Linked DNA regions of Homo sapiens: all the other regions are linked to region 1. The links are contacts of gene promoters, found by promoter capture Hi-C in human tissues and cell types (Jung and others, 2019). All regions are on one chromosome and are shown on one strand. The core of a region is centred on a gene start or on the middle of the fragment in contact, and the rest is flanking DNA. Distances in the headings are between cores, read along the strand shown.

Region 1 (7,586 bases), core at 1-2,500:
TCTTAAGATTTCCTAGGGGCCAGGCATGGTGGCTCATGCCTGTAATCCCAGCACTTTGGGAGGCCGAGGCGGGCAGATCACACTTGAGGTCAGGGGATCGAGACCAGCCTGGCCAACACAGTGAAACCCTGTCTCTACTAAAAAAAAAAAAAACCAAAAATTAGCTAGGCATGGTGGCGTGCACCTGTAATCCCAGCTACTCAGGAGGCTGAGGCAGGAGAATCACTTGAACCCAGGAGGCAGAGGTTGCAGTGAGCCGAGATCGCACGACTGATCTAAGACAGACTCCGTCTCAAAAAAGAAAAAAAAATTTCCTGGTATCCACTAACCTTAAACTAACAGGTTAAAGGGCAATGCTATGAATGCTGTGCCCCTTGTACATATACAAGTAAAAAAATAATAATAATAAAGGTTGAAACACTAGTGTTATCTATGATGATATAATGGCTGGTTTTACTTCTTTTCTTACATAATTGTCTCATTTAATCCTCATTACCGTATCATACTGTTATTATCACTATCTTACAGATGAGGAAACTGACCGTGGAGAGGCAATGCCGCTAATAAGATGTGATGGTAGCAGGACCGGAACCCCAACTGTCTGACTCAAGAGCCTTCCCTCTTAACCACAATACACTGCACTACACCCCTTAGATTCAAAATGTGTATAAATGGGTGCATGCAGCACAATGTAACTGTTTGCCCTAAGATCGAACAATTACGGATTCTAAACTGAAGAGGAGGCAGCCAAGAACGCCCACCGTCCCCTCAGAGAGCTGAAAACTGGAAAAGAGCCTGCACCTAACCCTCCCCAGCTTTCCAGGTCTCCCACAAGGAAGGATCAAAGATTTGGACTTCAGGCAGAAGACCCAAAAGTCACAGCCACCGGAGGTCAGGAGTGGAGGGTTTCAGGGAGCTGAGACAAATGCAGACGGGGACACACAAGATGCAGGGAGCAAGAAGCACGAGGCTCGGAAGCGAGGTGTGTAGGATGCTCAGACGAAGTGCCCTGGGTCCCGCGGGGAGTTACACACACAGGGATACGAGGCCTGGACCACGTGCAGAGAGCCCTGAAGCCGCTCTCTGAAGCCTCGACTCCCCCAAGTCCCCACGTACCGCATGAATCCTGTGTCCGTAGTGATTGTATCCCCCGGCACCACTAGATGTTTCTTAGTGTCGCGGCCCAGTCTCTCGCTAAGAGGCTTGCGAGCCACTGGAAGCCTCATCTCCATCGCCATCTTGGCGCCAATGAGTTGCGCAGGCGCAGCTCAGTCGGGAGCTGCGATATCCGACTCCACAACTCCAGGCCGCGTTCGGAGGGGCGGGGAAGGGCGGGGACTCAGAGCAGCTGCCAATGAGAACTCACGGCCTAGAGGCCATGTTTACAATTGGCAACAATAAGGCGAACCCGAAGGGAAGGGAGCCGAGCTGCCATGTCTACTATTGGCAAGGAAGCACCCGTGGAATAATAAAATCTCACGTTGTGTGGCGTGTGACTTTTTACCAAAACTGTCTTGTACTCATCATCCCATTTATTGTTTACCAGGGTTAGAGATAATTGAGAAACGGACCTCTGAGTTTCTGTCCAATTCTAAGCTGCTGAAATCCGATATTTTGTAAGAGAGAGCTCAGGAGGATGGAGAGATGGGATCTACAGAAAACACTATTTGAACAGAAAGAAGAGCCCCTTTCCACACGGTTCCCAGTAGCGCCAGGATTCTACATTGCGGCCGCCCCGTGGGTGCTGGCTCAACATCATCATCTATAACCCCAAACCGGGCTCCAGATACTTCTCACTTGGTTCTGTCCTTTCATAAGGACTCCTTTGAACAAGCTAATTTACTCCAATATTTCTTTTGGAAACAAGTTAAAAATCGTCTAAGAAAACAGGTCAAACCTTGCAAGCCAGGTATATTTGGTAGGGAAGGGAAGAGCACACACAATGCGAAGATCTTGGCTTGCATTTAGTTACACAGCGAGTTGAGCGCTCTCTGTGTGCCAGGCGCTGTTCTAAGGACTCAGCGGGGAACAGACGGATGTCTCTGTGGGTTTTTCTGCGGCTCCGTTTTAATAGGAGGGTACCCCTCGCCCCTTCTCCCCGTCCCCCACTACCCTCTCCCTCTCCTTGCCCTGCATTCACAAGAAACTAATTGGGGATGGTAACTCCCCATGCACAGGGACTCTAAAGACGATTAAATGAAATCATTGGCATCAGCTGTGGTCAGTAAAGCCGGTAAACCAAGTCCGCCTCCTGAAGAAAGATCCATCGAGCCAATTGTTTTATAAATCTCCAAAGCGACAGCATTTCTTCCACTTAAGCAAGTCTCACGACCACACTTAAGAAAGCCAGCCCTGCCAGGCAGTCGATGACATGAATGCTAGTGCCCCGAGGCCCTGGGTAAGCGGGCTGCCAGACCCTCGCCCTCTGCCGTGCCTGGAGGAAGGCACTAGAGCCCAGCCCCTCGGTCCAGTCCTGCCGCGGCCATAAGAGGGCGATGGTGTCCTCTGAGCTCGCGTAGCCCGGCAGCCGGGGAGCCAGGCCCAGCGAGCGGCCCTAGGCGGAGCGAGAGTGTAGGCCTGACACCATCCAAGTTCTTCCCGGGAGGGAGAGACGTCGCCTTTACCCCGCGCATTCTCACAGCGTTCACAAGGTTGGCATTGTGGATACCAGTTTATGGAGGAGGAAATCGAGGCCCCAAAAGGAATGGAATTCACATTAGCAGATGGCTGCAAAGCCGATGTGTGTTCCAACTGCACGCGATTTACCCCAGAGCCTGCACCCTTTACCAGAAATAGCCCGAGTGCTTCGGCTGGTCCTTTGCTGAGTGCTTTACAAATACTATGTTATGTATTCCTCACTTTCAGCCCATCTTCGAGATAGGCATTGCTATCCCTGATGATCACTTGGGGCCACCGAGCCCCCCAAACAGACCCGTAACTGGGACTAGAATCCAAAACGACAGGGACTCCCCCTCTCCCATCCCCAGTGCTCCTCTTTCTGCATCATCACACGCACCTTTTTTTATTTTTATTTTTTTCGAGACAGAGTCTTTGTCACCCAGGCTGGAGTACAATGACACGATTATGGCTTACTGCAGCCTCGTCCTCCTGGGCTCAGGTAATCCTACCACCTCAGCCTCTTGAATAGCTTGGACTACAGGCACATGCCACCAGGCTCGGCTAATTTTTTGTATTTGTCTTGTGAAGACAGGGTTTCACCGTGTTGCCCAACCTGATCTCGAACTCCTAAACTCAAGTGATCCGCCCACCTTGGCCTCCCAAAGTGCTGGGATTACAGGCATGAGCCACCAAGCCCGGCCACACTTACCCCTTTACGACCAGTAGACAAGTGGGTACCCGGAGACGAAGCAGCACATCCCAGGGGGCTTGTAAAAAGTATAGATTCCTTAGGCATTGAGGCTGTAAACCCCGAATATCTGAGACAGGTCTCAGTTAATTTAGAAAGTTTATTTCACCAAGATTGAGGATGTGCCTGTGGCACAAGCTCAGGAGGTCCTGACAACCTGTGCCCAAGGTGGTCGGAGCGCAGTTTGGTTTTATACATTTTGGGGAGACATGAGGCATCAATCAACATATGTGAGATGAATATTGGTTCGGTCTGGAAAGGCTGGACAACTCGAAGCTGGGAAGGGGCTTCCTGGTGATAGGTAGATAAGAAACAAATGGTTGAGGCCAGGCGCGGTGGCTCACGCCTGTAATCCCAGCACTTTGGGAGGCCGAGGTGGGCGGATCACGAGGTCAGGAGATCGAGACTACCCTGGCTAACACGGTGAAACCCCGTCTCTACTAAAAATACAAAAAAAAAAAAAAAAAAAAAATTAGCCGGGTATGGTGGCTGGTGCCTGTAGTCCCAGTTACTCGGGAGGCTGAGGCAGGAGAATGGCTTCAACCCGGGACGCGGAGTTTGCAGTGAGCCGAGATCGCACCGCTGTACTCCAGCCTGGGCGACAGAGTGAGACTCCGTCTCAAAAAAAAAAAAAAAAAAAAAGAAAGAAAAAAGAAACAAATGGTTGCATTTTTTGTATTTTTAGTTTCTGATTAGCGTCTCCAAAGGAGGCAATCAGGTATGCATTTATCTCAGTGAGCAGAGGGGTGACTTTGAATAGAACGGGAGGCAGGTTTGCCCTAAGCAGTTCCCAGCTTGACTTACTTTTCCCTTTAGCTTAGTGATTTTGGGGCCCCAAGATTTATTTGCCTTTCACAAGGCTCTGCAAAGGTAAGGTCCAGAAGTCTGTGCGTGTTTTAACTCCCTATGTAATTTCAATGGCGGAAAAGGTCTAAGATTCACTGATGCCACACATCTGTGCATCTCCGCAGCCACTGCCCCAGGCTGATCAACGGCATCTCTTACCAGGGAGATAACCTCCTAGCTTGTCTTCCTAATTCTACTTTTGTCCTTCCTATCATCCAATCTCCGCACAGCAGCCAGAGAGAGCTTTAAAAACAGATTAAATCACTTCTCTGCTTCCAGCACTTCTTGACTCCTGCCTGTCTCTGACCTCACGCTCGTCCTAACCCACTGCGTTACTCACTATGCTGCAGCCGGACTGTTAACGGTGGAGGGTGCCCAGCTTCTCGGCGTCTTGGACAAAACATACAGACAAAACAAGGAAAGAATAAAGCAACAAAAGCAGAGATTTATTGAAAACGAAAGTACACTCTACAGGGCAAGAACAGCTCAAGCAAAGAAACTCAACAGGCTCCTTACAGAAGTTTCTGGGGTTTAAATACCCTCTAAAGGTTTCCCATTGGTTATTTGGTGTACGCCCTGTGTAAATGAAGGAGTGGCCCGTGATCAGTCTGATTGGTTGTGGAAAGTGGCCAATCAGAGGCTGAAGTTAAAAGTTACACCCTACGCCAATGTCTGATTGGCTGTGGAAAGTTATCAATCAGAGGCTGAAGTGAAGTTACAAAGTTATACTCCCATGCAAATGAAGACTTGGCCACCTACCAGCCTGACTGGTAGTGGGAAGGGAGCAATCAGAGGTACTTTCAGTTTTTCATCTGCACACAGAAAAGCTGGGATTGCAAAGGGAGTAGCCTCTGGTCCTTTGGTTACTTGGACGTGGAAAGTTGGGGTTTTCCTTTTGATTTAGTTCTAGAAAGTCAGTGTGAATCAGCCTTATGTTCCCTGCCTCCAGACCCTATTCTCCTGCCTCAAGACTAGCTGGCTTCCCCTCGGTTCCACAGCACCAAGCTTCTCATCACTCCAGGGCCCTTCACTCTGGTCTCTTTCTGCATGAATTCTCTTCTCCCAGGCTTTTGTGTGGCTGGCTCCTTCTCCTCACTCATGGCTTGCTCAAACATCACCTCCTCAGAGAAGACTTCCCTGATCACCTTATCTGGAATAACTTTCCAGTCCTTTTTTTTAATCCCTTGATCCTGTTTTACTTCTTGTCACTGATTTTTCTTTTTCTTTTCTTTTCTTTCTTTTTTGAGAGAGAGACTTGGTCTTGTCACCCAGGCTGGAGTGCAATGGCGCGATCTCAGCTCACTGCAACCTCTGCCTCCTGGGTTAAAGAGATTCTCCTGCCTCAGCCTCCGGAGTAGCTGGGATTACAGGAACCCATCACCACGCCCAGCTAATTTTTGTATTTTTAGGAAATACGGGGTTTCACCATGTTGGCCAGGCTTGTTTCAATCTCCTGACCTGAAGTGATCTGCCCACCTTGGCCTCCCACAGTGCTGGGATTACAGGTGTGAGCCACCATGCCTGGGCTTCAATTTTCTTTCTTTTTTTTTTTTTTTTTGTTCATTGATTGCAGTCTCCCCCCACTAGAACATGCATTGCTGAAAACAGGGACTTTATCTATTCTGTTCATCATATATCAATGCTTAGATCCAGGCCTGGCACACAGGGCAGCCATAAAATATTTGTTGAAAAAAATACAATATATTTACAAAATACAGATTTGCTTGTCTGCTCATCGCCTGTCTTCCCACAGGATATGAGCCCCACCAATACCCAGACTGTCCATTTGGTTCACTGCCCATTTCGTATATATGCTTGATATATAGTAGGCCCTTGTATTAAGCATGCATTTGCTCTTTTTTTTTTTTTTTTTTTTTTTTTTGAGACGGAATCCTGCTCTGTCGCCCAGGCTAGAGTGCAATAGTGTGGTCTCTGCTCACTGCAACCTCTGCCTCCTGGGCTCAAGCGATTCTCCTCTTGAACCTACTGCAGCCTCCTGAGTAGCTGGGATTTTAGGCACCTGCCACCACGCCTGGCTAATTTCTGTATTTTTAGTAGAGACGGGGTTTCACCATGTTGGCCAGGCTGTTCTCGAACTCCTAACCTGGTGATCCACCCGCCTCGGCCTCCCAAAGTGCTGGGATTACAGGTATGAGCCACTGTGCCCAGAGCCTTTGCTTTTCTGTACTCAGATGCTTTGAGATCTTGGGGACTTGCTCTTCCCAGAGGGACTGCCCCAACCAGGGTTAACTGGTTCCTGGAGATAGTGAAGAACTCACCCAGGAGGTCCCTTGCAAATGCATGCCACCCAATCCAGAGCCCACACCCACAAACACCTCCTTTATTAGGCTCTCTTACTCAGGGCCAGTATCCAACTGCCCTGATCATCCCAAGGCCAGACACCAGACAGCTAGGGAAAGCCCTTATATAAACCCCAGCACCTACTGCAGTTATTCAAACCAACCAATCCTAAGGCTGCTTACCTTGCCTCACCCATTCCTTCCCATGGAAACCACAATAAAGGCTCTTGCTCATGTTTACCCCTCCTTCCCTCTGCCTCCTGACCAACCCGGTGCTTTCCTGTGCGGCTCTGCATGGCGCACCCTGCCTCTTGTTTCTAGAACAAAGATTTCCATGTTGGCATACCATGTCAGATTTCAGGACCCTTGAAACAGCTCTCTGCTGGGCGCAGTGGCTCACGTCTGTAATCCCAGCTCTGTAGGAGGCTGGGTGGGTGGATCACTTGAGGTCAGGAGTTCAAGACCAGCCTGGCCAACATGGTGAAACACTATCTCTACTAAAAATACAAAAATTAGCCGGGCATGGTGGCAGGTGCCTGTAATCTCAGCTACTCAAGGGGCTGAGACAGGAGAATTGCTTGAACCTGGGAGGTGGAGGTTGCAGTGAGCCGAGATTGTGCCATTCCACTCAAGCCTGGTTGACAGAGTGAGACTCCATTAAAACAAACAAACAAACAACAACAACAACAACAAATCTCTCAGTAAATCTCTGTTGAATTGATGAATAAACTTTTTCAGCAGGCATTTGCTGGGCACCAGCTATGTGCTGTGGGACCACAGAGCTGGATCATTTGAGGCCCCAGTCATCAAAGTGCTAAGATGTTCAAAGATGGGGAAGGGAGAGGGAGGACAGACAGAAAAGCTTGCCTGACAGAGGAAGCATTTGAATGAGCCTTGAAATGAGGGAACCATGGACCCTGAGGAGTTGGGGTGGGGAACAGGTGAACTCCAGGTGAAAGTAACTGGCAAGGAAATTCTGAAAAACATGAAAACAGAGGCAGCAGGGACTCTCTAGCCCAAAACTCTTGGTTCAATCCTCATCTACCTACTGGGTTCACCTCGTGTTCCATTGA
Region 2 (7,438 bases), core at 999-3,498, 150 kb before region 1:
ATACAACTTTGGCAGACCAGGCCCACACAGGAAATTAAACCAAAGTCATGAATACAGAAATGCTTTTCTTCTCAAATGCCATTTGACCTCTTCTATCAAACATTCTGCCGCATCTGGATTTGATCAAAGTTACATAATCGGGGAAGTGGCCTGGAAAACACCTGGAATAAGCAGAATGCAGATCCCCGCCCAGAGGTGGCCATCCACTTGAAGTGTGGGTTAAAGTGGGATGGTCCCGAACATGTCGACAGATGCTGGGAATGTTATGCAAGAGGATGAGGCCTTTGTTAGGAAGGAAAGGGCCTCCCACTGCTTTTTGATTCAACAGGACGTCAGGCGATCCAAGGCAGTCTCTCGACTTTCCTCTCCAGTTCTTGCTCTATTCCACAAATTAATGGCTAAAGCCCAAAGGGAAGTATTGCTCATGCATGCCTCTGGACCGAGACACTGAAGTGTAGCCACAGTCCAACACCAAAACCTTCCAGTCAATTCCCAATCCAGGCTGATGTCAAAATTGACTCACAATGTATAAATGCCAAGTTACTTGCTTCATTTCATAGTGAACTATGCTCGTCAACCTTAAAAATGATCACAGCTTACAAGGCCAAAGTTGCAGAATGTACTTAAATCTTTCTTGCTTAAGACACAAACTTTCCACCGGTCCCTCTGTCAGGAAGCAAGATTCCCCTAAAGAAGGCTGAAGGCTTCATTCAAAAAAAAAAGATGCCCCAACTAGTTCCCTTCTTCTGTTCTTCCAGCAGATCTTTTTGGCTATTGTCTTGGGAAATAAATTTTAGCATCTGCTATTATTCTTAAATTTTTTTAGTGAACATTTTCTGCAGCCTCCTTTCTGAGTCATACTTTAAACAGATTTAAGATCTGGATCTAAGATCTGGATCTTCAAAAGTGCCTCTCACTCCACTTAAAACCATATTGTTATTTTGTCATAATGTTAACAAAAAGGTTTCCACTCACCAACTAAACTCAGAAAAAATCACTAATTAGCTAGTTGAGCACCGAGAACAGTAATACATCTAAAAAATGCCTCAAACCTCTAAAAAGCTCTGGCTCTGTCTATGACAGTATAAAATTATTTGGAAATTTTATAAGAACCAGGCCACAGAATTCACTGGATCTGTGCATGATTAACTTGTTTAGACAGTATTCTAAGAAAATGGTTTGGGTCTTTAAAGTAAAATTGAAAGATCGTTTTATATAAAAATAATCCTTTCTCAAAGCTGTGAGTCACTGATGAAAAATGTTTACAAAAGATTCTCGGACATGGCATATCTGGCCTAGACTTCCAGGGGCTGCTGGTGCTGTGCCAGACGCTGGCGAACAGTCAGGGAAGGGAAATGCCCATGAACCCCAGTACCGGCTACTTCACAGCCCAAGGGGGGACTTGACCTCCAGGAAAAACATCCCCGGGAAGCTTCCCACCTTCCTGCTGGCACTTGTGCCCAACATCATAGTTCCCACTAGAGTGCAAGGCGGCCAGCTATGGAGCATTCATTACTGTTCACACTGTGGGCTCTCCGGAAGGTTCTTGGAGACGGTTCAGTGTGGGGGGGACAGGAGGATGGAGCATGTCAGACGTGACAAACGTTCCCTTTAATTTTGCTCACATTCAATTATTTAAACTTGTGCTGCTTTATTCATATTTCCTTTGTGGGTCCTTCGCTATTATCCTCCAGTTCAAGGAATCTCTGTAATTTAAAAATCTATAAAACAGATCCTTCTAAAAAGAGGCTTCGTGTTTTATTTCATACTCCGTTCCAGCGGATGAGATCATGCTCAGACTATTCTCAAGTTATTTTATAACAGTCTCAAACAACTTTTCAAAATATGAGCTTAGAGGAAAAGTATTATTTCCCACATTTTGAGCTTGATGAAAGTCATTTTATCTATTTCTACATGGTCCTTTATTTTGTAATTTACACCTTCACCCAGAGAAGTTAAAATTATTAAAACACACACACACACAAGCACACACACACACACACACACACACACAGACATACGTTTAACTGAACACAGCCTTTGTGTTATCTTCAAATCCCAAAACACTGTGTCAGCTGCTAGGGTGCAGGGAGGGGCAGGGCAGTGGGGGAAAGACGTAAAGAACCAGCAGTAGCCCCGCTCCTTGGAGAAACACAGCTGCTGAAAACTTACAGACTCAACAGCAAAAGTCTAACGGAAGGCCAGCGCTGTCCTGTGGATGAATTTTTTTTTTTTTAGATAGAGTTTTGCTCTTGTTGCCCGGGTTGGAATGCAATGGTGCATTTACAGAGGATTGCAAAGGAGAACAGTCCTCAAAAGACTTTTTGAAACAGTCCTCAAAAGACTTTTAAAAACTTGTAATATAGCTCTTATTAATGCCTTAAATAACTGTCTCTTTATTCGCACATTAAATAACAAGGTCCAGTGGCAACTATGTCATTTCAAAGTAGTGGTGCGAACAATGATCACAACCGTCACCTGATATCAAACACCTGGTTTCTGGCCAGGTGTGGTGGCTCACTCCTGTAATCCCAGCACTTTGGGAGGTCGTCTCTACTAAACCACGTCTCTACTAAAAATACAACAATTAGCTGGGCGTGGTGGTGCACATCTGCAGTCCCAGCTACTCGGGAGGCTGAGGCAGGGGTTTCGCTTGAACCCGGAAGGTGGAGGTTGCAGTGAGCCAAGATTGCATCACCACGCTCCAGCCTGGGCAACAGAGCTCGACTCTGTCTAAAAAAAAAAAAAGAAAGGTTAAGATTTGGACTGTTGATGGGGATAGGAGTTAGGATGGAGAATTTTGTTTCTTAAAAATTGTCTGGCTAAGACATTGTCATGTAAAAGATTCCAGGGGAAATATTTAAACCTTGGACTAATTAAATAACTTTATTTTTAAAGGAGGTTTCTCTAGAAACTCATTTAATCTACTGCCTATAATGGCTACAAGTGGAAAGTAATAAAACTGCATTTATTTTAAAAGAAAATTGCATAATTTGGACCTCTCACTAATTTATCCCAGTCTCCTTTTTAGGCTCTTCCTGTGAGAATGCTGAGGTTTTACTGAGCCAATTCCTTAGTGCAGGACTTGTTAACCTGGAAGACCCTGGGAGTCTGGGATAGAATTCAAGGGCTCCATGTCCTCTGATGGGAAAAATTAAAATTTTATTTCACTAACCTCTTACTAAAATGTAGCATTTAATTTTTTTAAGAACACAGGTAACAAACCAGAGTAGAAGTACAGTGCCTGTGACTGTCTCTGGTAGAAACTAGGTATTTCTTTTTTTGTTTGGTGGGGAAACCGAGTTTCACTCTTGTCATTCAGGCTGGAGTGCGGTGGCGCGATCTTGGCTCACTTCAACCTCCGCCTCCCGGGTTCAAGTGAGTCTCCTGCCTCAACCTCCTGAGTAGCTAGGATTACAGGCGCCTACCACCATGCCCAGCTAATTTTTATATCTTTAGTAAAGACGGGGTTTCACCATGTTGGCCAGGCTGGTCTTGAACTCCTGACCTCAAGTGATCTGCCTGCCTTGGCCTCAAATATTAACCTTTCTGAAGATACACAGTCCCTGTCCCCCTCCCTCAACCAAAAAGGAAAAAAAAAAAATTGTGTCACCTTCCAAGAATCTACGGTGAAAAAGTCTCCAATTACTGGAAATGGAGTACAAAGACACTCATAAATAGAGATGCCACTATCTTCAAGGCCATTCTGAACACCTGCCATTGACGCCCATATCAGGACTGAGGCTGGAAGTCATCCTCTGTCAGTTCCCACCCTGCATCTTGGCACTTTTCCTCCTCAATCTCTCATCACTTCTGTCCTTTCCATGCTCTACCACGCCCTTGGCTGGGTCCCCCTTTGGCCATTCCACCTCCACTCCCTACTATCAGGGCCATCTTTCTCAAATGCAGACCTGACCAGGTCACTCTCTTGCTTCAAATCCCTTAGAGATGGCTGCCAGCCGAGAGGCAGAAGAGAGCATGGGCTTGGGAGGTGGCCCTGTCTCCCAATGGTCAGCTACCACTTACTGGCAGTGTCATCGGGGGCAATGCTGGGATCATGATGTGCTTTGCAGGGTAGCTGGCAGTTTGCAGCTAACATGGGACATGTTTTTGAGGGCCTAGGCATGCACAGGCCCTCAAAAAATGGCTGGGGTTGTTATTCCTTCCACCACTATAGTAAAAGTCTGAGCTCCTGAAGCAGGCATGCCAGGCTCTTCAGGGTTGAGACTGGGAGCATCTGGCCCTCTACTCCTGCTTTCCATTCCAGCCTCTCCAAACTCCTTTCAGATCCCCCAGGCCTCCTGTTGCTTGCCTCTCCTGACTGCACTGTGACAAGTGCCATTTACTCTCCCTAGAGTTCGTTCCCCAGCCTCTTCTGCTCTTCCTGGCCTCCCCATCTCCCATAAACCTTCTCTAACCGGTCCTTCCTCCTCCCCATCACCTCGCCCACAACAGGATGCTTCTCCTTTAACCCATTTGGGTACCTGGTGTCTGTCTCTATCACCACCCTGCATCTATCACCCAGTAAGCAATCTGTTCACATGTCCCCAGCAGTACAAAAAGCATGGGCTCTGGGTGGACAGGCCTTGTTCAAACCTCAGCACCAGCATGTCTTGAAGACATTTGTTTCTGAGCCTCAGTTTCTCAACTGCACAACAGGGCAACAACGGCATGGCATCAACCTAGTTGGGCTGTCGGGAGGGCTCAATGAATCCTGCATGCAGAGAATTTCTGCATGGATGCCAACTGTGGCACCTGACACTGGGATGCTCACTACAGAACAACCGCGTCTTCTCTTATGCCACGCCTTCTCTTCTGCCACCACAACAATGTAAACTCCTCTGGGGTAGAGACCAAGTCTCTCATATCTCAGAGCCTTCTGTGCCTGCTCAGTGCAACGCAACAACACAGCACTGCTGGGTGAACTCAGATGTGGAACACCCTGCACTTGTCTGTCTTTAGCTACAAGGTACTGAAAAGTGCAGTTTAATAATCTGTTAACCTGTAATAAGAGCAGCAATAATGACAGATAGTAAAGTTGAAAAACAAATGCAACCTGACCAGGAAAACCTATATAAAAGCCTAGGGAACATAATGATTTGTTTTGACTGAAATATAAACCATGGCCAAAATCCTAAAGGTATAATGTAAAAACACAGTTCTCTGTGCTTTCAAAAGAAATAGGATTTGCTCCAGATTCCTAACAGACACCACAGTGAGCTCGCCGGACACCTTCCCAACAGGTTCCAGGAATCCCTGCAGTGGCCGCAGATCCAGACTGTCCACAGTCAGCCTGCTAATACCCACAAAGGCATTTTTATTGTCACAGGCCATTTGCAACAGACTGAAAGGCCTCCCCTTCTGCTGCCAGCCATGGCTGGTTTGAAAGCATTCACATTTCCTCTTCTTTTAACATGTCTTCATGGACTCCGGGGTCAGCTGACACCAGAGGCACTGGGCTACCCAATGACAGGCAATTTCCCCAGAAAGCCTTGTTAGCCATTAGTATTTTTATTGCTGATCTGGGTAAATGAACATGACCCTCCCCACCCTCATGGTATTTTGGCTTCAAAAAGCAATGCCTAATTGTATTCACGGCCTGTCTTTAAATACAATTTTAAGGTATTCAATGAACAACGCTATTAGCTAAATTTGAGGGCTTGTAAGACAGATAAAGACTAGGTTTCTATAGAGAATTTAAGAGTAATGAGGTTAAAGTTTATGCAACTTAATGTGATAGAATAATAGCTAATACTTACTGATCCCGTATCAAGTGCCAGCACTTCATCTGCACTGAATCCCTATAACCTTATTACGTAGACTCTATTATGAAGGCATTTGAGGGCAGGAAATGGAAACAGAGAGATGTGAAGTTACTGATGGCCTCTCTCTCCAGCTACCCATCCATACATCAGCTGCCTGTCCATCATCTGTCTCCTGCGCTTCTCTTGCTCTCACTCATTCTCTCTCTGTACCCACCCACCCCAGCCCCACTGGCCATCCTATTCCTCTTTGTCTCCCTTCTCTCAGTCTTCCTTCCCTCCCAGCTTGTTTTTTTTTCCCTTTCCTGTCTCAACCTTTTTGTATTTGTCTCTCAGTCTCTGTCTCTATAGATTTCCCCCTTATGTCTCCCCTTCCTCCCTCCCTCTCTCTCTCTCTATCTCCTTCCCACCTATTTCTCTCTGTCTTCCCTATCACCAGTACTCAACACACGCAATATAACAAAAATATTTATGGTGTAACATGGTAAAGAAAGAAGGATTTGAAAACCAACTTTTTTTTTTGAGCTGGAGTTTTTGCTCGTTGCCCAGGCTGGAGTACAATGGTGAGATCGCGGCTCACTGCAACCTCTGCCTCCCAGGTTCAAGTAATTCTCCTGCCTTAGCCTCCTGAGTAGCTGGGATTACAGGCACTCCCCACTACGCCTGGCTAATTTTTTATATTTTTAGTAGAGACAGGGTTTCAGCATGTTGGCCAGGCTGGTCTCGAACTCCTGACCTCAGGTGACCACCTGCCTCGGCCTCCCAAAGTGCTGGGATTACAGGCGTCAGCCACCGCGCCCGGCCTGAAAACCAATTTCTAGAGCAAGCTTGTTCAACCCATGGCCCACGGGCTGCATATGGCCCAGGACGGCTTTGAATGTGGCCTAACAAATTTGCAAACTTTCTTAAAAACATTATAAGATTTTTGGCCCGGTGCAGTGGCTCACGCCTGTAATCCCAGGGCTTTGGGAGGCCGAGGTGGGCGGATCACGAGGTCAGGAGATGGAGACCATCCTGGCTAACATGGTGAAACCCCCGGGCGCCTGTAGTACCCTCTACTAGGGAGGCTGAGGCAGGAGAATGGCGTGAACCCAGGAGGCGGAGCTTGCAGTGAGCTGAGATCGTGCAACTGCACTCCAGTCTGGGCGACAGAGTGAGACTCTTGTCTCAAAAAAAAAAAGAAATGAGATTTTTGTGGGATTTGTTTTGTTGGTTTAGCTCATCAGCTATCGTTAGTATGTTTTACGTGTGGCCCAAGACAATTTTTCTCCCAATGTGGCCCAGGGAAGCCAAGATTGGACACCCCTGTTCCAGAGTAACGATTCTACCCATCTGAGGACAAAGTTACACTATCAAAACTAAGTAATTATAATTAGCAAGCTATTCTTCCTAATGGCTTTGAAACTGTAACTTTATTATGTAAGAAAACAAGACTGACTATAAGCTGATAATTGTTAAAGCCACATCATAAGTACATGGGAGTTCATTATGCTGTCTACTTTTGAGACAGTTTTAGGCTGGGTGCAGTGGCTCATGCCTGTAATCCCAGCACTTTGGGAGGCTGAGGTGGGAGGATTGCTTGAGCCCAGGAGTTTGAGACCAGCCTGGGCGACATAGTGAGACCCATCTCTATTTTTTTTAATTAAAAAAGAGATAGTTTTAAAAATTGACACTAA
Region 3 (7,279 bases), core at 4,707-7,206, 160 kb after region 1:
GCTGCGAGGTCCCTCTCAGGAACAATATGTGCTAGGGATGGGGATACAAAAACAGAGCTGTAGGTCTGCCCGTGGGGACCTTACAGTCCAGGCGGGGGAGCAGGAGTCTACACACCAGGCAGAAAAATAACGAAAAACCAATGAAACGCAGGCAGAAGGGGATGAATCCAGATGGCCAGATCCTGTGTCTTGGCTCAAAGTAGAGGCTCAATAAATGTTTGTTGAAATGAAAAGGATTGCTGGGCATGGTGGTTCATGCCTGTCAGCACTTTGAGAGGCCGAGGCAGGTGGATCGCTTGAGCTCAGGAGTTTGAGACCAGCCCAAGTAACATGGCAAAACCCTGTCTCCACAAAAAAATACAAAAATTAGCCAGGCATGGTGGCACACACCTTTCGTTCTAGCTACTCAGGAGGCTAAGGTGGGAGGATCAAGATTGCTTGAGCCCGTGAGGTCGAGGCTGCAGTGAGCCATGATTGCAAGCCATTGTACAAAAAGGAAAGAAAGAAAGGAAAAAGAAATGAAAAGAATTGAAGTCAGTGGACAGAAAGATCGCCCTGGGCTGTGGGAGTCTAGGAAGCCTATTGGGGGAGCAAGAACCTGAGCTGGCATTTAGGCAGTGGGCAAGATGTTGGTGGCTGAGGGCTGGGGGCAGGTGGGGAGCACCCCAGTTTTATAAAGAGGGGGCCTCCTTATCCCAACCCTGCTACAAACTACTGCAGGCTGCTTAAAAACAACCTCACTGTTTTTCCCCTCGTTCTACCTTTCTGCGTTGTCTGGATGTTTTTGGTAATGAGCGTGTGTTACTTTAAAAACCAGAAAAAGCAATTAAGTTATTTTCATTGGCAAGATTTAAAAAAAAAAAAAACATTCACAGACACAAAGGATGGTTAAAATAAAGTTCACACAGAAAAAAACAGAAGAGGGATCAGGAGCAAAACCGAAGAGGGAGGTAATTATATCAGGAACCCTGGAAGAGGAAGAGTGAGATATTTTGATGAATGATTCACCCTGACTTACAGCCTCCAAGATGAGGCCAAAAGGGAAATTGGGAGGGGTGGAAGATGGGGTAAAAAAGGATGCACGCTTTGCAGGGAGGAGAGGATTGAGGGCCGTGGGGGAATCATGATGGCAACTCTGGTTTGCCGAGCACTTATCTAAGCCGAGCACCCTGCTGAAACATTTCCATGCTGTTCTGGGGAGGATGTTATCTCTGCCCACACCGTGCAGATGAGCGTCGCATCCGAGGTCTGGAAGCGGGAAGTGGCCGCTCAGACCTCTGAACCCACACGTGCTAGTGCTAGCTGTGCCCACGGCTCTCCCTCCTCTGCCGCAGGGGCAGGAGGAGGCTGCAGCATAGGCCAGCGGACAGAGCCGTCCTCAAGCGCTGTTGTAGGAGTGCAAGAACTCGCCACCCTCGAGACCGCCGGCCTGAACACTGCAAGCTGCTGCCTGAGCCTCTCTGATGGAGTCCCGATACAGCGCAGCGACAGTTGAGCCCAGAGATGGCAGGGTACATGTGTGACAGAGGGGACAGGCCATGGAGCTTAACCCCTGCCTCTCCAGTGGGGCCAGCGAGGAAAGGGGCCTGTGGAGCCCGGGCAGGAGCACTGGTTCGGCCGTCTCATCCTTGTCCCTCTGAGGGAGGGTCTGTCGCTTTTGCCATCCAGGCTGGGCTGTTGGAACAGGGTAGGAAGAGTGTCTTTTCTGCTCTTGAACCCTGACCACCAGCTTCTTCTCCATCTAAAACCAGGAAGGGTCTTTAAAAAAGGTACCTGGCTGCTCCCCTCCCTCCATGGCTCCCTATGCCCTCAGGATAAAGCCAAGCTCCTTACCACAGTCTACTGGGTCCTTCTCACCTGGCCCTGGCCACTTCTCTGTCTCCTCCCTTGGGACTCCACTCACGCTGGCCTTCTTTCTGGTCCTCCAATTCAGCTCTGCCTCAGGACTCTTACATATGCTGTTCACTGGCCCCTGCCTGTGCCCACACCCTAGTCTGGTGAGGTTCTTATCTTTCTGATCTCAGCTTAGCTCACCCTAGTTTCCAAGTCTGGGCCAGGGGCTGCCCTGTTATGAGCCCCAGCAACCCTGTCTTGTGCTGACTGGCTCCAAGGACTAACCAGGCACCACCTCACCTTGTGCTAATCATGACAGGCGCTGCTGGTATCTCGTTTTCCTGATGAGGAAACACACTCAGAGAGCCTGAGGCTACAGGTCAAAAGGCAGAGCTGGGATTTGAACCCAGGTCTGTCGGAAGCTCCCAGTGCGTAACAACAGGCAGCCTTTGGGAACTGGAAGAGACCCCAGAAGCCACAGTCCAACCCGCTTATGGGGTGGGTGGGGAAACTGAGGCCCAGAGATGGCCAGTGACTCCCAGGGAGCTGGCAGAGAATCCTGCCCACCTGGCTCCCCAACCCGGCCCCCCAGGCGCGAGTTCCTTGCCTCCCCGCCCTCCACCCAGTGAGCAGAGCTGCGTCTTCTCTCCTTGCAGAGCCTTGCGGTGCAGAGGTACGGGAGGGAGGCAATGGCTGGGCCGGGCACCCTCCCCAGGAGCCAGGCTCTGGCTGGGGGAGTGGAGGGGCCTCCAGCTTCCTTCCCCACCCCTCCCCTAGCCCTGCTGGCAGCTGCTTAGCTCAATTAGCCAACAAGTGGCTGTTTTGTGGAGTTACTGCTGATGTGTTTTAAGTGGCTTTCTGAGTGGGAAATGTTCGGGAGGAGAATCAGGCAGACAAAGGGGCGCGAGTGCATTAGGTTTTATCGCTCTGTTTTGTACACGTCTGACATCACTCTTCAAAGCAAGTTCTGTTCGGCCCTGGGAGAATGATAAAGAGACAAGTGGGAGGGAGTGCAGGCAGGCAGACACGCACGCTCTCTCCCCAGCTCGCTCTCTCCCCTGCTCCCTTGCACGCATGCCATCCATCCCGTCCTCCAAGTGGAGGCATAATGGCCGGAGACGCTGGAGCAAACTGTCCGACAGATGGGGCCTGCCCTGCTCCGGAGGGGAGGCTCGGCTGCAAATAAAGTCTTCAGGTGAAATAGAATAACTGAAGTAGCCAACGATTGTGCGGTGAGAGGGTAATGCGTCTGCCTCTCGCTAATGGCTGCACAGTTGCCAGAGAATGAAACCTCTTCTGATCACGCAGGCGATCCAAGGACAAAAGTCAGCGAGGGAGATGGCAGAGAGAGCGGGGAGGACGGAGCCCCCCAGCTTCATTCCCCACCCCCACCCTCGGGCTGAGGCTTGGACAAAGGGCCCATCCCCGCCTCCAGCTGCTCACTCAGGGCTTCGGCTCCAGGTTTGGTAAAAAGTAATGAGCAGGAAAGTAGCTACCTTTGAGGGGGCACTGGAGAGGATGCTGGGGGTGGGGGGCAGGGGTCCTGGGAGGAGGGAAGACTGGCGTAGGCAATGGTCACGCAGGGTGGATGGCGAGAGATGGTCTGAAGGTACAACGGCTTTCCTTTTGCCTCAATGCAACGCAGTCATCTTCAGGAGCCCCCTTTCTCTCCAGCCCTCGGTTTCTGTTTCCTTAAAAGGAGGAGCTTTGCTTTAACCTGTTGCCCATCTGCTTGTCCGTCCATCCACCCTTCCAAATAGTCATTCGTTTGGTAAGTTTTTGTCTTTTTTTTTTTTTTTTTTTTTTTGAGACAGAGTCTCACTCTGTTGCCCAGGCTGGAATGCAGTGGCATGATCTGGGCTCACTGCGGCCTCACCTCCCAGGTTCAAGTGATTCTCCTGCCTCAGCCTCCTGAGTAGCTGAGATAACAGACATGTGCCACCCCACCCAGCTAAGTTTTGTATTTTTAGTAGAGATAGGGTTTCCCCATGTTAGCTAGGCTGGTCTCAAACTCCTGACCTCAAGTGATCTGTCTGCCTCGGCCTCTCAAAGTGCTGGGATTACAGGTGTGAGCCACCACACCCTGCCATAAGTATTTTATTTATACATTTATTTACTTATTCTGGTGATTCATGAATTGGGCAGCCCCCAGACCAGAATAGGTTGAGAGAGACTCCCAGTATTTTTTGTAAAAAGGTTAAAAATATTTGTTTTTTGCTGTGCATGCACTTCCGGGCACTGAAGTTGACACACACTTTCCTGCTTCCCTTTCTTCGTTCATGGTGAGCTCTCCCCCCTGGAAACCTCCATTCTTCCATCTTCACTTAGTGAAATTGTATCCACTTTCAAAGCCCATTCTGCGTGCTAGCTCCTGGGCGCCACTTGTTCAGATGTACTCATCTCTGTCTGAGTTATATATCATTTGATTTAATAAGTATCTTTTGAGCATCAGTTATGGGTTAGGTCTTCTGCTAGGGGCTGAGAATACTGAGGTGAACGAGAAGCTCCCAGGTTAGCACGGGGGATAGACAGTGAATGAAAAATCCCAGAAATCATCATTCATTACAGCCTTGACACTGCTCTGAGGGGAAGTCACACAAGCCTGTAACAGGCCTCACGCTGGCTGGAAGGTCTGGAGGTCTCCTGGAGGCAGAGACCCTATGGGTGGGGAGACTGTTGGGGGAGGGGGATGAGGGGCCCCGGAACACTGAGCCCTGAAGGAGGCCGAGCCCCAGGTGGGCAGAGAGAGAGGGAAAGGAGGAGTCTGGGTAACAGAACAGGGAGAAGGTTCTGGGACATCCAGGCAATGGCTCTCACCTGTAATCCCAGCACTTTTGGAGGCCGAGTGAGCAGATCACTTGAGGTCAGGAGTTTGAGACCAGTTTGGACAATATGATGAAACTCTGTTTCTTTTTCTTTTTTTTTTTTTTTTTGAGACGGAGTGGAGTCTCGCTCTGTTGCCAGGCTGGAGTGCAGTGGCGCGATCTCGGCTCACTGAAGCCTCTGCCTCCTGGGTTCAAGTGATTCTCCTCCCTGAGCTTCCCAAGTAGCTGGGACTACAGGCGCGCGCCTTCACGCCCAGTTAATTTTTGTATTTTTAGTAGAGACGGGGTTTCACCATGTTGGCCAGGATGGTCTCAATCTCTTGACCTCGTGATCTGCCTGCCTCGGCCTCCCAAAGTATTGGGATTACAGGCTTGAGCCACCGCACCCGGCCACCCTGTTTCTACTAAAAATATGAAAAAAAAATTAGCGGTGTATGGTGGCACACGCCTGTAATCCCAGGTACTCAGGAGGGTGAGGCAGGAGAATCTCTTGAACCCGGGAAGTGGAGGTTGCTGTAAGCCGAGATGGCGCCACTGCATTCCAGCCTGGGCGACAGAGCAAGACTCCGTCTAAAAAAAAAAAAGGAAGGTTCTGAGGTGGGAAGGGACCCCTGAGGGGCAGGAGGGACCACAGCCAGGGCCAGTGAGGCCACAAGAGGCTGGGCGCAGGAGTGAGACCAAGAGAGGTCTCTGTTCTGCAAGTCGTAGTCACAAGCATTGGTGGTCCCAAAGGCCATCCTTGCTCGGATAGGGGAGAAAGATGCTCTTTTAAAAAAAAAAATTTGTTTTAACCAAAGGCAAGTCTTTCATTGAACTTCTTGCACCCCTCATCCACCCCCACCCAGCCCCAGTGCTGGCTCTTCCCCATTGTCCATCCCTGCAGCACCTGTTCAGGGGCTGGAGGACAGGAGGGACACACATAGCGGGAAGAAGGAGCAAGAGACAGAGACAAACCTTGTGCAGCAGACGGGGCAGACCACTGGGCAATGGGGGGCACCTGGGAAAGACGCGTGTCTCCTTCATGGCTCCCCTCGGGAAAGGAGTGGAGAATGCTTTCAACATGGAGAATGCCTTCTCCCCCTCCAGTAAAAGGTATGTCTTTTTGGGGTTTTCTCATTGCAATGGTAATGCACACCTGCTGTAAGAAAAAGCCAAGCGTCTATTAACTGGTTTTCAAAAGGAGAAAAAAGGAAAAGCCAAGTGTCTCGGAAATCAACAGGCCAGAACTTTGGAGCCCTCCTGGCTCCTGTCTTCCTCCCACCCCCAGGTCCAGTTGATGGGCTCCACCTTTGGAGTGGCTTCCGCTCTGACACTGACAGCCACCTCCACCCTCGGCTCTGACCCGAGCCCCCACCACAGATCTAACAGGCTCTTCACTCAGCAGCCAGCGGGGCCCTTTATCAATGGCAGGGCAGGGCACTCCTCTGCCCAAACCATTTGGTGTCTTCACTTTGCTTGGAGCAAAAGCCAAACCCTCCTCTCAGCCCTCAGGGACCTGTGTGATCCGCTCCCACCCTTTCCTCTGCCATCCCGCCTCTTTTCCCCCAGGGGGTCTTCAAGGATCTGGTCCCACACTGCACTCACAGCAGCTGCTCTCTGGAAAGCCTCAAGTCGTCTTGTCCTGAGTGTGTGCCCCCCAGGCCATAGTCAAAGACTTGCTTAGAAACCCAGCCTGAGGCTGGGCATGCTGGCTCATGCCTGTAATCCTACCACTTTGGTAGGCCAAGGTGGGCGGATTGCCTGAGCTCAGGCGTTTGAATCCAGACTGGCCAGCATAACAAAACCCTATCTCTACTAAAAATCCAAAAATTAGCCAGGTTTGGCACATGCCTATAGTCCCAGCTTCTTGGGAGGCTGAGGCAGGAGAATCGCCTGAACCTGGGAGGCGGAGGTTGCAGTGAGCTGGGATGGTGCCACTGCATTCCAGCCTGGGTGACAGAGCAAGACTCTGTCTCAAAAAAAAAAAAAAAAAAAAAAAAAAAAAAGATCCAGGTATGGTGGCTCACATCTGTAATCCTAGCACGTTAGGAGGCCGAGGTGGGTGGATCACCTGAGGTTGGGAGTTCGAGACCAGCTTGACTAGCATGGAGAAGCCCCGTCTTTATTAAAAATTACAAAATTAGCTGAATGTGGTGGCACATACCTGTAATCCCAGCTACTCGGGAGGCTGAGGCAGGAGAATTGCTTGTATCCTGGAGGTGGAGGTTACGGTGAGCCGAGATCGCGCCATTGCACTCCAGCCTGGGCAACAAGAGCGAAACTCTGTCTCAAAAAAAAAAAAAAAAAAAAGAAAGAAAGAAAGAAAGAAAGGAAAAAAAAAAAGAAACCCAGCCCTGGCATCATCCTTTCCTCCAGCCCTGCAGACCCTGCGGCCTCAGTAGCTCCGTGTCCTTATCTCTGCCTCCCAGCTCAGCAGGATGACTGCAGCTTGGATCCCTGCTCTCTGGTCTGTGGCTGGGAAATTGGCCCCAGGCAGAGATCTGGTGATTGTGGGGCTCACTTCATGGGTTTCCCTTCTCTCAGGGATTGTGGTCTTGCACAGTCTGAATCTATGGTCTTGCACCGAACAGAGTAGCCTCATAGATTCCATCAAGGGCTAGTTGTATACCCACTACTCCTCC
Region 4 (6,572 bases), core at 3,147-5,646, 210 kb before region 1:
TATGGTAGGGGAGGCCTGGCATGAGACCCCGGGGATGGGCAGGGCAGAGTTGAGGTGGGGCGGGGACAGCAGGAGGGAGAGAGTAGGATGGGGGCACAGAGCCGGCCTAGAGGGGTGAGGGTGCCGCCAACTCCCTCCCATCCACTAAGCCAGCGCTGGGTAAGCACCATTGTGCCAGGCCCCACCCCAGGCACTGGGGTCAGCAGTGGCTAGGTCGGACATGCCACTGTCACGGGAATTCCGCACTGGTGGGGAAACTGACAAGATAGGCAGCCGGGACCCTGAAAGATAAATACCCACAGGGGCACATGTGTTGGCAGAGGAGGTCCTCAACGCCGACAGGAGGTCAGGCAGCCTTCCAGAAATGAATAGAAGGTAACCAAGTGAGGAGGAGTAGGGACAAGCATCCTGGCAGAGGGAACAGCATGTGCAAAGGCCCAGAGGCCAGGTATAGGAAAATGCGAACACAGATCCTGTCTGTCTGGCTCTGGCTGGAGTCTGGGTAAGGGTGCTGTCACCCCCACCTCCTCCCGCCTCCTGCAGTCTTCCCACCAGCTCAGAGCCCCAACGTTTGAAAAGCATCACAGCTCCACTTAAAGGGAACAGAGAAAACCAAACATGAAAACTGTCGGTCCTCAGTGGCTTGCCCAACACAGGCCTGCAGGAAGAAGGAAGTAGCCCAGGGCTGATTGCACGCACTTGGTGGTTGTCCCTTTCTGTCCCCAACTGCATGAGCTCAGCTGTCATTTATCATTTCTCCCTGGGGAGTCGCTTCCTACGCCCCTCAGCTTCTCCCACCATTTTCCCCCCAACTTCAGGGCTCAAGAGGATCCACGCCCTGACCACACAGGCTGCCTACGAGCTGCACGTGGACCTGGAGGACTTTGAGAATGGCACGGCCTATGCCCGCTACGGGAGCTTCGGCGTGGGCTTGTTCTCCGTGGACCCTGAGGAAGACGGGTACCCGCTCACCGTGGCTGACTATTCCGGCACTGCAGGTGAGGCTCCAGCTGTGGCAGGGATGGGGAAGGGGGGCGGCCTGGGAGGATGGAGGACGGAGGAGGTCCTGCCCTCCAAAATGATCAAGGCTAATGTATTTTTCCCCCTTTGAAAGTAATCAGGTTTTTGAAAAATAACAAATATTGATAAACTACCAACCCCACATCACAATCAGAGGCCTGAAACCAATCTAAATTTTTTTTAAGTAATAAATTTTTCAAATTGGAAGAGTAAACAAGACAGAAAAGGGAAAATTTTCTTCCTTACCAAGGATCCCTCAGTCCTTGTCTTCATCAGTTGATTCAGTTGCATGTCATAAAAGATGAGCTTCTGCGAATCTTCTGTTCGTTTTTTCATAATAGTGTTGATGATGCCCTTCGGCCCTCTGGGGTCAGGGTCAAGGCTGCTTGCCTCCTCCTCCAAGTCCTGCTTGGTCCTCACCCCTGCAAGGCGAAGCCAGCAGAGCCTGGACTGTTTTCCCGTTTTGCAGATAAAGAAACTGAGCCCAGAGCCAGGAATCAGGAGACCCGGGGTTCGGGTCCGCTGGGTCTCTAAAGTGTGGTGGCTGGACCCCCCTGGGCTGGGTTTCCCCTCTCAGGCCGAGGAGCGGGGAGGCAGGAGAGGGAATGTGGAAAAGCTGGGGGGAGGGATAGAGACCGCCTAGACCCAGGGGCAGCCCCAGGCACGCCCGAGAAGGGACTGCGTGCGTGTGAGCTGCATGGACACACCCGGGTGTGGAGGGGCAGGTGCGCTTGCACGCGTGCACAGCAGTATGTGTGAGAGCACGTGCGTACGTGTATGCACTCACGTCCAGGTGCACGTGCAGTGTCTCGGTGTCTGCTCACACATGCAACACCAGTGGGTGTACCCGTGCCCCCCGTGCCCACACCTGTGTGCACCCCTGCGCAGGCGACTCCCTCCTGAAGCACAGCGGCATGAGGTTCACCACCAAGGACCGTGACAGCGACCATTCAGAGAACAACTGTGCCGCCTTCTACCGCGGTGCCTGGTGGTACCGCAACTGCCACACGTCCAACCTCAATGGGCAGTACCTGCGCGGTGCGCACGCCTCCTATGCCGACGGCGTGGAGTGGTCCTCCTGGACCGGCTGGCAGTACTCACTCAAGTTCTCTGAGATGAAGATCCGGCCGGTCCGGGAGGACCGCTAGACTGGTGCACCTTGTCCTTGGCCCTGCTGGTCCCTGTCGCCCCATCCCCGACCCCACCTCACTCTTTCGTGAATGTTCTCCACCCACCTGTGCCTGGCGGACCCACTCTCCAGTAGGGAGGGGCCGGGCCATCCCTGACACGAAGCTCCCTGGGCCGGTGAAGTCACACATCGCCTTCTCGCCGTCCCCACCCCCTCCATTTGGCAGCTCACTGATCTCTTGCCTCTGCTGATGGGGGCTGGCAAACTTGACGACCCCAACTCCTGCCTGCCCCCACTGTGACTCCGGTGCTGTTTGCCGTCCCCTGGCCAGGATGGTGGAGTCTGCCCCAGGCACCCTCTGCCCTGCCCGGCCAAATACCCGGCATTATGGGGACAGAGAGCAGGGGGCAGACAGCACCCCTGGAGTCCTCCTAGCAGATCGTGGGGAACGTCAGGTCTCTCTGAGGTCAGGTCTGAGGCCAGTATCCTCCAGCCCTCCCAATGCCAACCCCCACCCCGTTTCCCTGGTGCCCAGAGAACCCACCTCTCCCCCAAGGGCCTCAGCCTGGCTGTGGGCTGGGTGGCCCCATCCTACCAGGCCCTGAGGTCAGGATGGGGAGCTGCTGCCTTTGGGGACCCACGCTCCAAGGCTGAGACCAGTTCCCTGGAGGCCACCCACCCTGTGCCCCGGCAGGCCTGGGGTCTGCAGTCCTCTTACCTGCTGTGCCCACCTGCTCTCTGTCTCAAATGAGGCCCAACCCATCCCCCACCCAGCTCCCGGCCGTCCTCCTACCTGGGGCAGCTGGGGCTGCCATCCCATTTCTCCTGCCTCTGGAAGGTGGGTGGGGCCCTGCACCGTGGGGCTGGACTGCGCTAATGGGAAGCTCTTGGTTTTCTGGGCTGGGGCCTAGGCAGGGCTGGGATGAGGCTTGTACAACCCCCACCACCAATTTCCCAGGGACTCCAGGGTCCTGAGGCCTCCCAGGAGGGCCTTGGGGGTGATGACCCCTTCCCTGAGGTGGCTGTCTCCATGAGGAGGCCAACCCTTGCCATTGACCGTGGCCACCTGGACCCAGGCCAGGCCCGGCCCGGCGAGTGGTCAAGGGACAGGGACCACCTCACCGGGCAAATGGGGTCGGGGGGACTGGGGCACCAGACCAGGCACCACCTGGACACTTTCTTGTTGAATCCTCCCAACACCCAGCACGCTGTCATCCCCACTCCTTGTGTGCACACATGCAGAGGTGAGACCCGCAGGCTCCCAGGACCAGCAGCCACAAGGGCAGGGCTGGAGCCGGGTCCTCAGCTGTCTGCTCAGCAGCCCTGGACCCGCGTGCGTTACGTCAGGCCCAGATGCAGGGCGGCTTTTCCAAGGCCTCCTGATGGGGGGCCTCCGAAAGGGCTGGAGTCAGCCTTGGGGAGCTGCCTAGCAGCCTCTCCTCGGGCAGGAGGGGAGGTGGCTTCCTCCAAAGGACACCCGATGGCAGGTGCCTAGGGGGTGTGGGGTTCCGTTCTCCCTTCCCCTCCCACTGAAGTTTGTGCTTAAAAAACAATAAATTTGACTTGGCACCACTGGGGGTTGGTGGGAGAGGCCGTGTGACCTGGCTCTCTGTCCCAGTGCCACCAGGTCATCCACATGCGCAGATGTCTGCAGCGCTTCCTTCTGCCGTGGGCCCAGGCTGGACAGGACCTGGTCCCTGCCCTCTCGGTCCTCAGCTGGACGCAGATACAGCCAAGAATCAGGCAGTGGCAGCCTAGTGTGGCCGGGGTGGTGGCTGGAGCAGGCCAGGTGCGGGGCCACAAGGGGCAAGATGTGGGCAAAATGACCACATGAGATTCAACGGGAAATCCCTTCTTGGCTCCTCTTCCCACCATCTAGAAGCCAAGGGAGCCCACCCAGACCATCTGGGTTCCCAGAGCACCCTGTCATATTGCAGGGGCTGGGTGGGACCCGAGTTCTCATCCCAGGAGCCCCCCACCGACAGGCCCCAGGCAGGAGCTACCAGCCTCCCCATGCCAGTGACTGCGCCAGCGACTGCTTAGAAAGTGCCAGCACTTTCTGATGTGTCATCAAACAAACTCCTGGTGAGTGTGAAGTTAATGGACTCACAGATGTGTGGGTGCAGCAGGAGGCACCAGGGCCCTCGTGCCAGGGCTTGGCTGTGGAACAGATGCACCATGGCTGGGGCCTGGCGAGGGGCCGGGGGCAGGTGCAGGTGGCCTGTGAGCCTGTGGTCCAGGTCCAGGTCCCGGCAGCATCTGTCCTCAGTGGCTGGCTGCACTGGGGATGCCTGTCCCTTCTAGAGCCCTGTTACTGCCCTAGAGCACCGGCCCCTGTCCCAGACCAGGAGAGGGCACATGGCCCTACCAAGCACCGGCTGAATGGGCACGGAGCTTGACATGGTGGGGAGGGCCCAGGCCAGCGCACCGGCCCCACCCTCCCCAGGGGCACCTTCAAAGGCTGGCACTGGGGAAAAACGGTCCCTGCGCACCTGCTCCGGGCCACACCCTCTCACCCTAGCCCTGCAGAGCCTACGGTCTGATACCAGTGCAAATGGCTCTCATCTGAGACAGGAGGATGGGGATGCTGGGAGAGCCCTGGGCGAGGGACAGCTCGAGACCTGTGGGCTGAGTGACCAGGCCAAGGGCTAGCATGTGCACAGGGTCGCCTGGGACCCACGGGCCCCAAACCGTCCCCTGGGACCCAGTTTGAGGGTGGATGCCTGCAGCCCTCCATCCCACAATGCCACCTGACTGAGCCTCCTCCTGCTGCTTCACTTGAGGGGAGTAAGCTGAGTGGGAGGGGTCTCTGCATCGCCACACTGGGACCTGGAGGCAGCGCACCTGCGCCGTTGCTTCTCCACGTGCACAGGTAGGTTTTGTGGCTCAGCCAGTGGCCTTCCTCCTTTCCCCTAAACTTCACACATATCTCAGAGAGTTACACCAAAGGCCACGCAGCTGACTGCCTGAGCACCAAGGTCCAGAGGATGGAAGGAACCTTGGTTTCCATGCTGGTGGCCTCAGCACATTCAGCTGGAGAACAGCAAAGGAACAGAGCTGTGAGCCATTCTCAAACAGCTTTCCCCTGCAGCTGCGTGTAAATTGGTTTTATAATGTTTGTCTTTGGGACAAAAGCTGTATCGCCAGTGCCTACCTCCTTCTGGTGCCCCTAACCCTTCCTGCCACCTGTCCTCGTCCACACAGGCCTCTGGCTGGCTTGGCTGGGGCCAGAGCCCTGGAAGCTGGGAGCCAGGGTCTCTGGAGGCCCTGTCACCCAGGGGCGTGTCTGAGCAGGCAGAGATTTGGAGGATTGTTGAACCATCTCAAACCATGAGGACGCTGGCTCCAGGGAGGGGAAGGAAGAGGAGAGGTACCGTTTGTGTGAGATGGGGGGACGGGACATAAAGAACGCCTGTGGCCAGCGGCAGACCCGTCCTGTGACTTCAGGAGCAATGTACCGGCAGGAGGACCCAGCAGGGGACACACAGAACCCAGAACAAGGAGACAGGACACTAAGCTTTGGCCTCAGCGGACCGGGCTTCCCCAGGGCCTCCATTTCTTCATCTGCTTTCAGAGACAAGGATGTCCCCAAACTGTGTGGCCCAAGCAGCCGGCAGGACTTGGCAAACCCAGAGGGCTGAGGTCGGGCCTCGGTGGGATTTGTAGGGAGTGTTGGGAGCTCTGGCTCAAGGCTGGCCACGTTGGCCCCTCATGCGCTGACAGGTGTGTCTGACTCGGGCCACACAGCACTGGCCAGGGCTGCAGAGGGAGCTCAGAGGGCCAGCACAGCGACTGGTGGAGGAAGCCTGGTATGGGAGCATCGCTAGGCGAGGCTGTCAGCACTTGGTGTCTGTGCGTTCTGTCTTTAATAAAGTCTCATGGTGACCCAGCTCTGGTCTCTGCCTCCAGCCGGACTCCAAGCCTCGTGTCAGAGCTTGAGTGGATCAGATACCCACGTGTTCCAGGACTGCCTCTCGCTCTGTCTCCCCTGAACTCCTCTCATCATTTATTTTTAGAGACGGTCTTGTTCTGTCACCCAGGCTGGAGAGCAGTGGCACCATCACTGCCCACTGTGGCGAACTCCTGGGCTCAAGCGATCCTCCCACCTCAGCCTCCTGAGTAGCTGAGACTACACGTGCGCACTACCACACCCAGCAATTTTTTTTTTCTACTTTTTGTAGAGACGGGGTCTTAGCTATGTTGCCCAAGCTGGTTTTGAACTCCTGGGTTCAAGCCACCCTCCCGCCTCTGCCTCCCAAATTGCTGGGATTGCAGGCATGAGCCACTGCACCCAGCCACCATTTTCATTAGAGCAGCCAAAAGGCATTTCCCAGATAGCTCTGGACCCACTAGGGCTGCTCAAGACCCTCTGACTGGGCCAGTTCTGGGCTTTGCAAAGATGGCCTGGACCTGGTCAGGCGGA

What was found. Contacts are between HindIII fragments. The study calls those that stand out against the background at their distance.
Region 2: a fragment that was not itself captured here is called in contact with the fragment with the promoter of EXOSC2 in region 1 in 1 of the 25 tissues and cell types used here (dorsolateral prefrontal cortex).
Region 3: a contact is called between a fragment that was not itself captured here and the fragment with the promoter of EXOSC2 in region 1, in 1 of the 25 tissues and cell types used here (dorsolateral prefrontal cortex).
Region 4: a fragment that was not itself captured here is called in contact with the fragment with the promoter of EXOSC2 in region 1 in 1 of the 25 tissues and cell types used here (mesendoderm cells).

The regions. Positions count from the first base shown.
Region 1 is chr9:130,687,444-130,695,029 of GRCh38, reverse strand. EXOSC2 (exosome component 2) reads right to left here and starts at 1,250. Exons shown (of 9, transcript NM_014285.7): 1 at 1,117-1,250. The coding sequence starts at 1,238. RefSeq lists an enhancer at 998-1,187. The HindIII fragment of the contact is 7,301 bases long and covers 1-6,297 here.
Region 2 is chr9:130,840,658-130,848,095 of GRCh38, reverse strand. All of the region lies in intron 1 of ABL1 (ABL proto-oncogene 1, non-receptor tyrosine kinase), which reads right to left. Among named protein-coding and RNA genes, the nearest start is that of ABL1, 9.1 kb to the right of the region's middle. RefSeq lists a silencer at 140-434 and an enhancer at 26-648. The HindIII fragment of the contact is 3,526 bases long and covers 486-4,011 here.
Region 3 is chr9:130,531,652-130,538,930 of GRCh38, reverse strand. No RefSeq gene overlaps it. Among named protein-coding and RNA genes, the nearest start is that of FUBP3, 44 kb to the left of the region's middle. The HindIII fragment of the contact is 8,183 bases long and covers 1,865-7,279 here.
Region 4 is chr9:130,899,660-130,906,231 of GRCh38, reverse strand. FIBCD1 (fibrinogen C domain containing 1) reads left to right here. Exons shown (of 7, transcript NM_032843.5): 6 at 819-998; 7 at 1,909-3,792. The coding sequence ends at 2,168. Among named protein-coding and RNA genes, the nearest start is that of QRFP, 6.1 kb to the right of the region's middle. The HindIII fragment of the contact is 8,002 bases long and covers 396-6,572 here.